Regions from separate parts of the Homo sapiens genome. Here region 2 is linked to region 1. The links are contacts of gene promoters, found by promoter capture Hi-C in blood cells and fetal thymus (Javierre and others, 2016). All regions are on one chromosome and are shown on one strand. The core of a region is centred on a gene start or on the middle of the fragment in contact, and the rest is flanking DNA. Distances in the headings are between cores, read along the strand shown.

What was found. Contacts are between HindIII fragments. The CHiCAGO score rates a contact against its expected background, and 5 or more counts as called.
Region 2: a contact is called between a fragment that was not itself captured here and the fragment with the promoter of GPX8 in region 1, in 3 of 17 cell types (total CD4 T cells, naive CD8 T cells and naive CD4 T cells). The highest score is 6.2, in total CD4 T cells.

Annotation. Positions count from the first base shown.
Region 1 is chr5:55,156,830-55,162,633 of GRCh38, forward strand. GPX8 (glutathione peroxidase 8 (putative)) reads left to right here and starts at 3,342. Exons shown (of 3, transcript NM_001008397.4): 1 at 3,342-3,567; 2 at 4,165-4,426. The coding sequence starts at 3,364. All of the region lies in intron 2 of CDC20B (cell division cycle 20B), which reads right to left. The HindIII fragment of the contact is 5,226 bases long and covers 1-4,529 here.
Region 2 is chr5:54,842,157-54,847,960 of GRCh38, forward strand. It overlaps the pseudogene CSPG4BP. Among named protein-coding and RNA genes, the nearest start is that of LINC02998, 100 kb to the left of the region's middle. The HindIII fragment of the contact is 9,684 bases long and covers 1-5,804 here.

The DNA of each region.
Region 1 (5,804 bases), core at 2,092-4,591:
CACCACTGCACTCCAGTCTAGCCGACAGAGTGAGATTCTGTCTCAAAAAATAATAATAATAAATAAAAAAATAAGTCATTTATTTAGCACTCAGTTATTTACTGCCTTGTAATCCTTCCGTTTCTTGTGTGTTCTCATATTTCCAAAATTGCTTTTACAGTTGCATGAGGCTGGCTCCTTCCCTTGCACCTTATTTGTATCCTTTCCAGTGCTTGAGTTGGTTGATAACTGAGTCAACTACTTTATGCCCTTCTTGACCCAGTAGCTTCCTCTTGCCTTCATCATGAACTCATCAATCTCTTCTCCTCCTATAGAAGCCTTCCTTCATTTACTGAAAGAGCGCTGGTGGTTTTTCTAACATACTACCCCTTATGCAGAGAAATGTGCCATTTTGATATATGTATAGTCTGAGAATAGAGTTAGTATAGACAGAACATGAAAACAATAATGGTGGATCCCCAGAAGGCTGAGAGATGATGACATCAAAATGTGTGCAGAGAAAGACTGCCAAAACAACAAAGAAGAGGTGTGACAGGGCCAAAATCTGTGTTCATCCAATGCTGTCCAGCGCACAAGTTCTCCAAAGTGCTGTCTGAATGTTTGGTTAATGGGTCAGTATGAAAATTTATATATCATGCCTTCATTATTTGAAGCTCTTAAGCCTTAGGAACATTAAATTAACAAACTGGCTCTGATTTCATCCTTGACAGGAGATATACACGTAAGTTTTCAAAGTTGTATTCATATAATATGGAATTTTGTGGTGAAACCAACCTCAACATCAGGCCTGCATAATGTTTTATTTCTGGTGTAAAAACTGGCTTATTCAGCAATCACAAGCAAGTTTGTAACAGCATAATTTTGGCATTTTCAAATCCATTCATCTCTGGATCACTTGATAAGAGTTTCTGTACTTATAATACAATGGACTAGAAACTATCACAGTGATTTTATCAAAATAATATCACCCTAGGGGGCCCTGCCTAAGCGGTGGTCAGTCAACATCCCTGCCAAAGATAAATCACTCTCTTTCCACCTCAAAACACAGTTATAATGACTTGGGTTTACACGGCTCAAATTACAGCAGGTATTCTATGAATTAATTTTAAAATGCATGTTCCTAAGCCATTTGCTTGTACAGCCTGAGGAGTTAAAATATCTCGTGTATTCATAGAGACATGAACACATCCACTATGGAAAACAAAGACAAACCAAAGACTCTTGTTGCTCTGAAACCAAAAAAAGTTTGAGGTCTAAAGGTTCTCAAACTTAAACGTGTGTATGTGTCATGAGGAGATCCTGTAAAAGTACAGATTCTGACTCGGGAAGTCTGGGGTGGGGCCCAAAATGCTGTGTTTCTAACAAATGCCCAGGTGATGGTACTGTGGAAGGTCCCAGATCCCACTTAGAGAGCAAGGCCAGAGAGCTTAAGCAACATAGCAGTGTTCATGTCATATAAACACAGGGACTTTGACTTTTTAAACAATTCAGCCAGAGAACACCAAAGTAAAATTATCAGGAAGTGATACAACACATCTTACATACATTTTTGTTCTTTACTAGGAATTATGTTTAAAAGGGAATACTTTCTGCATAATCATTGCTTTTTCTACTGTATCCATTCTTACTGAGCCATGAGAGTAGGAGTCGAGCGGTTCCTCTCACAAGTTTTACACAGTAGGCTATGGGCTTTGCTCAGCCACCCGAAAACACACATGCCACAGAGCGGGAACCAGAAGAGCAGGCAGCACCCTGAGCACCCTCTCTGAAGCTCCACAAGCTAACAGTGACAGGAAGGGCACTCCACAAACATCTCAGCTCATTCCCTGCACTTTCTGGAAACACATCATGATCAAATGGCATAATGCCCCTTCATCCAGATCTTGCCATGAGTCTTAAACAGAGCAGAATTGAAAGTGAATGGCTTTTAGGATATACAGCCCTCAATTGCCTCCCCATACCTACCCCTAAAATTCATGACCGTTAGCAACAGCAAAGTTAGGCCCCCTGTGCCAGGCAACAGCCAGGGGAGGGAAATAAAGAGAAAAAACGAAGCAATTAGATGACGTGCCCAAGTAGAGGTGGGTTTTGCAGGGTTTGTTTGTTTTCAGGGATTTTTTTTGGTAGAATTGCCTTATTTAACTGTTAAATTACTACTTTATTATCGAGTTCAATTTTTGCTTTTTTCCCTCTTCTTCTTTTGTTCTGATTTTAAGATAGTCTCACTCTGTCACCCAGGCTGCAGTCTACAAACACGACTCACTGCAGCCTCAACCTCCTGGGATCAAGCGATCCTCCCACCTTTGCCACCTGTATAACTGGGACCACAGCCATGCACCACCACAACCAGCTAATTAAAATTCTTTTTTAGAGACAGGGGTATCGCTTTCTTGCCCAAGTTGGTCTTGAACTCATGGGCTCAAGTGATCCTCCCATCTAGGCCTCCCAAAGTGCTGGGATTACAGGCGTGAGCCACCATGCCCGGCCTCAGTTTTTTCCATCTACAGGTTGTAGTGCATCGGTGAATGATGAAATCATTTTGATAGGTCAGAACTGGGTTGTTTAAAAATGCAACAGGTGGGGGTGCATCACAGTTCAAAGGAGAAGTGTTGTTTCTCAGTTGTGTGTTGTTTGTACCCAGTTATGTTGTAAAGTGCACTGCTGACTGGGGGTCATGAGTAGAAATTTGAAAAACACTGGACTATAGTTTGCTCTATGATAGAGAAGGGTTTCTTTTAACACCTTCACTGTTTTTAACATATTTATTTTGACTGTATTCACTTGGTATTTGATTGCCTTAGCTAGATGAATCAGGGTAAATAGCCTTTTTCAGATATTTCCCTGCTCTTTCCACTATAAATTTCCTGAACTCATATAGCATGTTTAACCCATACATGTAATAGTAACGTCCTTCAGGGTATACACCATATGAGTAGGTCACATTTAATCTACATTCTAAACTATTGCTGAGCATCGTACTCCATCCTCTGCATCCAAACAGTTGCTCAATAAATACACAGCTTAGCATGGGGAATGAGCCCTCCGTAGCTTTCGAGTTACAAGAGCACCATCTTCTGGCGAAATATTTTCTTTGTAGGGAGAATGTCAAAGACCTACCAAAAATGTCCTGATTTTTCTAGCAAAAATTATAATTACATCACAAATACTTTGAAATTCTGTAGAGCTCCTTGCTTCATTCAGGAGTTTCGCTTCATTTCCCCTCTGAGAAGTGGTCTTTCTGTTCCTTAGCAGTGAAAGCAGTCAGCCTGTCCTTCCTGGTTTTCCGTTAAACTAAGCCGGTTTCAAGTTTCAGCTCCTCCTTGAATTCCAGGCTGCTGAGACTTCCCTCTAGAATCCTCCAACATGGAGCCTCTTGCAGCTTACCCGCTAAAATGTTCCGGGCCCAGAGCAAAGGTATTTGCAGTTTTGCTGTCTATAGTTCTATGCACAGTAACGCTATTTCTTCTACAACTAAAATTCCTCAAACCTAAAATCAACAGCTTTTATGCCTTTGAAGTGAAGGATGCAAAAGGAAGAACTGTTTCTCTGGAAAAGTATAAAGGCAAAGTAAGTTGCATCATCTGATTTTTATTGTTATCATTTTTCCTTGTCTCTGTTTATTCCTCTTAATAAAATCAATTTTTTGCTGTTACATGGTCATAAGTTGGAATTTAGTCTTCAGAGTAATGGTATTAGTACATCACTTTAGTTATTACAGTTCTGATAGTTTGCTTCTAAATAATAAATTCCGATTATCTCGTTTTCTTTAAAATGCTTTAATTTTGTGCTGAATTGACATGTAAAGTTGTTTGGAAAATACTTATAGTTAGTAATGTGAACATGATGACATTTATTAATAAAAGTATTGGTTCTATAATCTAATAACTTTAAAAAGAACTTATCAAGGATCATAGTTTTATCTTTAATTTAAAAATAAACTTTCATGAGTATCTAATGCTTTTTTAATGGCAGTACTATTTCAGGGCCTTAACCCAGGCATCTAGGTTACAGTTTTCAATAGAACTGTGTATGTCCAAAAATATGAAAAAAACATCAATCAGAGGTTATAGTCCCCCCCAAATTGTTTAGGATTTTAACTACTTGCAGAATTTTTTAAAATCTTTTGCTTCACTTTCCGGTTGGATTTTTTTCTTTTTCCGGGAGGTTTCACTAGTTGTAAACGTGGCCAGTGACTGCCAACTCACAGACAGAAATTACTTAGGGCTGAAGGAACTGCACAAAGAGTTTGGACCATCCCACTTCAGCGTGTTGGCTTTTCCCTGCAATCAGTTTGGAGAATCGGAGCCCCGCCCAAGCAAGGAAGTAGAATCTTTTGCAAGAAAAAACTACGGAGTAACTTTCCCCATCTTCCACAAGATTAAGATTCTAGGATCTGAAGGAGAACCTGCATTTAGATTTCTTGTTGGTAAATATCTGCCTTGCATATGCTGTTTTAAATTGCTTTTCATTTTTAAACAATTATACCAGGACAATACTTTCCTATTTCATTTGAAACGTTGTATCGGGAAAGCTTCATAAAACTATCATCAAAGAGCCAGAATCTCATCCTTTGTAACTTCTAGGAGTTATGCTCCCCTGAAATCAATGTTTTAGCTTCTTAGATGGTAAAAGAATTCTATTCCAATATATTTTATTCCTTATTACCATCTTCCTGAAGAATTTACTTAAAGTGTGCCCATGGCTATTTTCACAAAATATCTTAATTCTCCTCTCTTGTAACTAGCATCTGGAGAAATGTCCCTTCCCGTCATTATAGCCACACAGCTCTCATGAATAGTGCTGGGCATTATTAGTTAACATATGTTTGTGGCTAATTTTATGTTGTCTTTCTTATCTGAAACAATATTCTCAAAGATGAATATGTCAGCTTACCAGATTTTTGCTAAAATCCAAAAACATATAACTTGGTTTTTTCAGAGGGCAGTAGTGTTAGGCTATTTCTCCAATTAAGCTAGCTACAGAAATCTGTTTAAAGACTTGCCAAGGTCACTTAGCACAAAGGTCATGAGGCATACAGACAGCATAGGCTTTGGCCTCAAGCTACCTGGGTTCAAACCCCTGCTCTTTTGTTTTTGCTATGTGGCTTCTTAACTTCTCTGTGCCTGTTTCTCATTTGTAAAATGGGCTATCAATAGTACCGCCTTCTTAAGATTGTTTGGAATTAAGTCTGTTAATAGTAAAAATAAAGTACTTATACACTGCTTGCTCTGTGCCAGACACTGTTCTAAACCATATTAGTCAAAAAAAAAAAAAAAAAAAAAAAGGCCGGGCGCGGTGGCTCACGCCTGTAATCCCAGCACTTTAGGAGGCCGAGGCAGGCAGATCACTTAAGGTCAGGAGTTAGAGACTAGCCTGGCCAATATGGTGAAACCCCATCTCTATTAATAGTACAAAAATTAGCCAGGTGTGGTGGTGGGCACCTGTAATCCCAGCTATTCAGGAGGCTGAGGCAGGAGAATCGCTTGAACCCAGAGGCAGAGGTTGCAGTGAGCTGAAATCGCGCTACTGCACTCCAGCCTGGGCGACAGAGCAAGCCTGCATCTTAAATAAATAAATAAAGGACATTAGCTAATGTTCTCTCATCTAACTTATTCTGATGACATCTTCAGTCCTATTTTCACTGTAAATAAGTTGAGTTTTGATCAAACTATTACCTCACTCAGGCAATCAAGCTTCTAATCCAACAAACCAAATAGTGATCTATAATATTTCACATAAATGTGAAGTCAGAATCTTCTAAAAACATTATATTTAATTTCTAGGGAAAGTTGATATAATGCCTA
Region 2 (5,804 bases), core at 2,350-4,849, 310 kb before region 1:
AGAAGAAACAATGGCATAATAAAGAAATGAATTAAACAATGTGTCAAAAAAAAGTCACAGCACTATGAAAAAAAAGAAAAAATAAAGCAAGATAAGGGGGGCCTCAGGAGTGAGCAAATGTTAAGTATGAGGTTCAGTTTGAGGAAAGACTGGAAGGAGGTGAAGAGGGAGCCAGTGAATATGTAAATATCTAGGGGAGGACCATACAGGCAGAGGAAACAGCCCAAAGGCAGGCCTCATCTGTTGGGAGACTAGGAAATCGGTCAGTTGGAAGGAGCAGAATAAGCAAGATGAAGAGTAAAAGGAGATGAGTTGAAACATAATGAAGGTTGTCATATTGTTCGGGGTCTTGAACGCTACTGTAAAAACTCTGGTTCTTCCTTGAGTGCAATGATGGATCATTGCAGAGTTTTAGGTGAGGAGTGACCTGGTCAGACTCATGTTTTCACAGAATCCTTTGGCTTCTGTATCAGGAATAGACTCTGGGAGGTACAAGGTAGAGGCAGAGAGACCAGTTAGGAGGTGACTACAATAATTCCAGAGAAGGATGACAGAAGAGAGTGGCCCCAGAAGTTGCAGAGGTGGTGGGAAGTGGCCAAATTCTGGGTGTCTGTTGAAGACAAAACCAGCCGAGCTTCTGGCTATTTCAATTTGGCGAGGTGTGAAAGAAGGAAAGGCGGTGAGAATGACTCTATGGTTTGGGCCTCAGAAACGAGGACAGGGTTACCATCAGTTGAGATAAGGAAAGCTGAATGTAGAGTAGATTTGGGGAGTAAGATCAGGAGTTCAGTTTTGAACATGGGTTTAAAATGTTTATATGGACACTGAATCACATTTGATGGAATTTGGCTGTTTTGAGTTTCTCTAATCATGCAGCCACAGGATACTTCACTAACACTAAAGACAAGTAGTTTTGTCACTAACTCAAATTTCACATTTATATCTGTATTTGTATTTATATGTATTTTTCTTACCCACAGAAACACCATGTGCACATACCCATGCATAAGAACTTTATCATCTTCTACGCTTTTTCATAACTTGTTTAAAAATTCAGTCCTAAATGACTTAATAGATGATCTCTCCAGTTAAAGAGAACCATTTCCCTCAGTAGAAAGAGCAGTTTGTGAAATAACTTACTCCAATTAGATGATGGATGGCATCATCTAATAACTAAACAGAACTTGAGACAGGAAACTCAGAAAGTATATAAGATTCCTATGTTTTCATGTCAGGCATAATGGGGCTGGAAGATAATCCATTCTGCTTCCTTCTAATACACCAACTACTGATAACACAGGAAAAAAAACTACTTTGTGAATTATCCTTTAATTTCTTAAAAGTTAACAGATGAGACCATAAAGTAATTATACATAAATAAATACCCACATACTCCACATATATACACATGCGCATGCACACACACACGAACTTACACTGCCAAACCAATGTTTAACTCCTCAAAGTAGTTATGTTGAAAAATAACATGTGCCAATAACAATAGCACTACTTGAAATTCTTTTAAATATTTTCAGGTTGTTCAAGAATGCTTGATTTAGTTTCTGTCCAGTTAAACCACCTGGGTTTGGGTCACTGCTTTGTTGCTTACTAGCTATATAACCTTGGGCACATTTCTTAACCTCTCTCTGCCTTAATTTCCTCATCAGTAAACTAGAAATGATAGAGCTGTTGCACAGACTGAGTGACTTAATATATGAAAAGTGTTTAGAACTGTTTCATCAGGCACATAGTAAGCATTCAATAAATATTAGCTTTATATGACCCATCTTCTTCATCAGATTTGGCTTTGAGGACAGATGTGACTTTTTAGTATTTCCAAAAAGTCACTTAGAGTGTGATTATTGCCATTATTGAGGCTATTCTATAACATGTACTGCAGATTTTGTTTAATCTTCCAGCATTCTTTCATAACTTGGGGTGAATAGTTTATCTGTTTAATAATTGTGTTGTTGATGGACATGCCTATATCTTGCCATTTGAATATGCCTACTGAAGATTTTGCAGCACTAAGCTCTAAGGACATCAGCTTTTAAATAGCTACCAGAAATGCGAATCAATACAACGTTCAAATAATAAGGTTTTGGCCTTCATTTAAACCCACAGAAAGGCTATAATAAAATGCGCAAGTTGGACTGTTTAACAAAATTCCAAGCCCACTCATTCTGGTTTTTCACTTTTTACATTTTTTAATCCATCCACATATCTCATCCTCATTTCTTCTAGAGCTCCAGCTGACTTGGAAATGTGCTGCCATTTCTCTTCTCGTGACTTGTAGAAACAATCATTTTTTCCAAGGCCATACACACCAAGGCTGGACAAAGCATGTTTTCCACTGCAGCTACTCTGCTATGGAACACTGCTTTCCCTCCCTCTCGCCTCTGAAATATACCATCTTCCAAAACAAATGGAAAACCTGCCACTCAAAACAAGATCTAGTAGCCTCAGGTCTCATTTCCACTCAAACCAAATTTAGTTCAATTAACGACCCCATTGCTTCAGGTAAGGCCTGATTTAGTGCCCAGTGCTTGGTAATGGAAACTTCAGGCAGATGAGGAGAAGGAAAACAAAGACCCCCAATTTGAATTCAGATTTTAAAGTGATCCAAAGCCCAAAAAAGAATAGTTCAAAGCATAAATATCAGAAAATAACACAAACCTGGAATAATAATTTTTAAATTGACCTTTAGCTTTAAGAAGAGTTTAGTGGTATTTAGAAACCTAATTGTGATCCCATTTAATCCTAGTTGTAAACTTAATATTTAAAAGCCCAGACCTTTGGAGGCAGAGGTTGCAGTGAGCCGAGATCGTGCCACTGCACTTCAGCCTGGGTGACAGAGCAAGACTTCGTCTCAAAAACAAACAAACAAACAAACAAACAAAAACAACAAAGCCTAGACCTTTGTTGCGTTTCATACGAGGGATGTGAAATGCTCATGAATTCACTCTCCCACTGTTGGTCCCCCGAGAGCTTCAATTGGCATTTCAAACTTTGCTGCCTTAATTCTTCTACTGTGACCAGCTCTCAAAGCTCCTTTTAGTGATGACAAGTATTTCTCAAAAGCAAGCAAATGGTTCTATTTTCAGTATAAAAACAACAAAACAAAATGTATAGTATTACTGAAAGAGGAACTTGAAAAATAGGAAAATGAAGCCCCCTTGTGGACAAAAATATGTTTTATCAGATATGCACAAAATTCACTGATCATATTTGAATACAAAAATACTCAGTAGAATATATTTCAAAGTAAAATGCAAAGGATTCACCCAAGATGGCCTAACTCCAATTCCCAATTCCAGTTTGTTGGGACACAAATGATCTCTTGTACCATTGAATGACCTTGGAGATCAGCTGAAAGAACTGTGGCTTAAGGAAATGTTTTAATTTGTCAGGAGAAAGAAGTGTGTTTTAAATGGTGGGACACAGAGGTTAACATTCTGATTGCTGGCTATGAACTCCCTCCAGAGTCTGAGATGTTATCAGCAACTCTATCCCCCACGCTCCCACCTTCTTCTCCCACTTAGGCTGCAGACAGACTTTCTTGCCACCTCCTCCAGGCCCAGATGACAAGTAGGGAGAGTGAGTCATCATGCAGGATAATCCGAATGTCTTGAGAACATGCTGTTTGAAAAGTCAGAAACAGCACTGAATCTGAAGACTTTATCACATTTGCATTTGCATAACTGCCTTTGCCCCAGACTCTGCCACTAACTTTGTTATTTTGGGCAAATCGCTTAACCTCTTGATCTTTAATTCCACCTTCTTAAAATTGGAATAAGAGCAATACTCTCTTTATCTGCTTCACCAGGTCCTTGAGCTTCTTCGCTAACTATGAAGGAAGAAGTGAGAGAACACTGTGGTGCCAAACTCAAACTCGCATTCTAGCTCTGCCACTTGCTGTCCACCAGCAGCCCTTCTGCTTTGGACCTTGGAGAAGTGTCAAAGCCTCTCTGCATTGCAGATTTCTCATCTTTAAAATAAAAATCATATCCCAGAGAGTTGTTGAAGATTCACTGGGTAAATGTAAAGCGCATAGAACAATGCCAGGCACTGTAAGTACTATGTAAGTAATAACTATCATTAGGACCATGTAATGGACCATGTAAATGGTTGTTATTATTACTGTTTGATATGCTCTGAAATATAGAAATAAGAAACATCATCATCTGAAATAATCTCCTAAGTTTAAAACTTTGCCTGGAAAGAAGTAACTGGTAACCATAGCTTTGGAGAAACTATGTTATTGAAAACTGCATTCTCGTGGCTCTACTATGTTGATAAAATGCATATGCTATATCTATTAGCTTTCACAAAAAAGTAAACACACCTGATGTGTGAAAATTATTTAATAATGTTAAAGGTTATCAATTTATGAGAACACTCTGCAATTGATCAATACACACAGTCTTTCCAGAAAGTTTCTATGCTCATTTGCCATTGTTATTACACATTCTAGTGGATAAAAGAGATACCACACTCCAATAAAAAATGAGGGGCAGATATTAAAAGGATGTTTTAAGGAATCGCCACACTGACTTCCACAATGGTTGAACTAGTTTACAGTCCCACCAACAGTGTAAAAGTGTTCCTATTTCTCCACATCCTCTCCAGCACCTGTTGTTTCCTGACTTTTTAATGATCGCCATTCTAACTGGTGTGAGATGGTATCTCATTGTGGTTTTGATTTGCATTTCTCTGATGGCCAGTGATGGTGAGCATTCCTCAAGGATCTAGAACTAGAAATACCATTTGACCCAGCCATCCCATTACTGGGTATATATCCAAAGGACTATAAATCTTGCTGCTATAAAGACACATGCGCACGTATGTTTATTGCGGCACTATTCACAATAGCAAAGACTTGGAACCAACCCAAATGTCCAACAATGATAGACTGGATTAAGAAAATGTGGCACATATACACCATGGGATACCATGCAGCCATAAAAAATGATGAGTTCATGTCCTTTGTAGGGACATGGATGAAATTGGAAATCATCATTCTCAGTAAACTATCGCAAGAACAAAAAACCAAACACCGCATATTCTCACTCATAGGTGGGAATTGAACAGTGAGAACACATGGACAAAGGAAGGGGAACATCACACTCTGGGGACTGTTGTGGAGTGGGGGTAGGGGGGAGGGATAGCATTGGGAGATATACCTAATGCTAGATGACGAGTTAGTGGGTGCAGCGCACCAGCATGGCACATGTATACATATGTAACTAACCTGCACATTGTGCACATGTACCCTAAAACTTAAAGTATAATAATAATAATAATAATAATAATAATAAAAGGATGTCTTAAATGTCATAAATTGCCTACACAGGCTATCAAAATCAGCAAGGCCAATTCCTGGATGCCTCTTGGCTCTTTTTCATCAAGTCTAAATTATGTTGACATTGTTAATAGCCATTGTGATTAAATCATAAAATTTCAGTGCACAAGACTTCATCATTCTAAAATCCTGACAGCAATTTCATTCACATTATACTGTAGACACAAGGAAAGCAACACTGTGATTATACACCCTAATCTACATCCCTTTTTCTTGGAATATTTAAAATTTCATAATGTGTTATTTTTCTTCCTTCATAACTTTGGGCCACAACAGCAGTATATAAAGTGGATCAGTCAGGTTTGCAGACAGTGTGGCTGGTACTTCCATCCCAACCTCCTTTCCTGCTGAAACGAACAAGGCAGAGGCGCAGGGTCAAGGGCAGTCAGGGTTAACCAGCAGGCAGGGCTGGGACCTTGAGGAGTCACAAGGAGACTTCAAA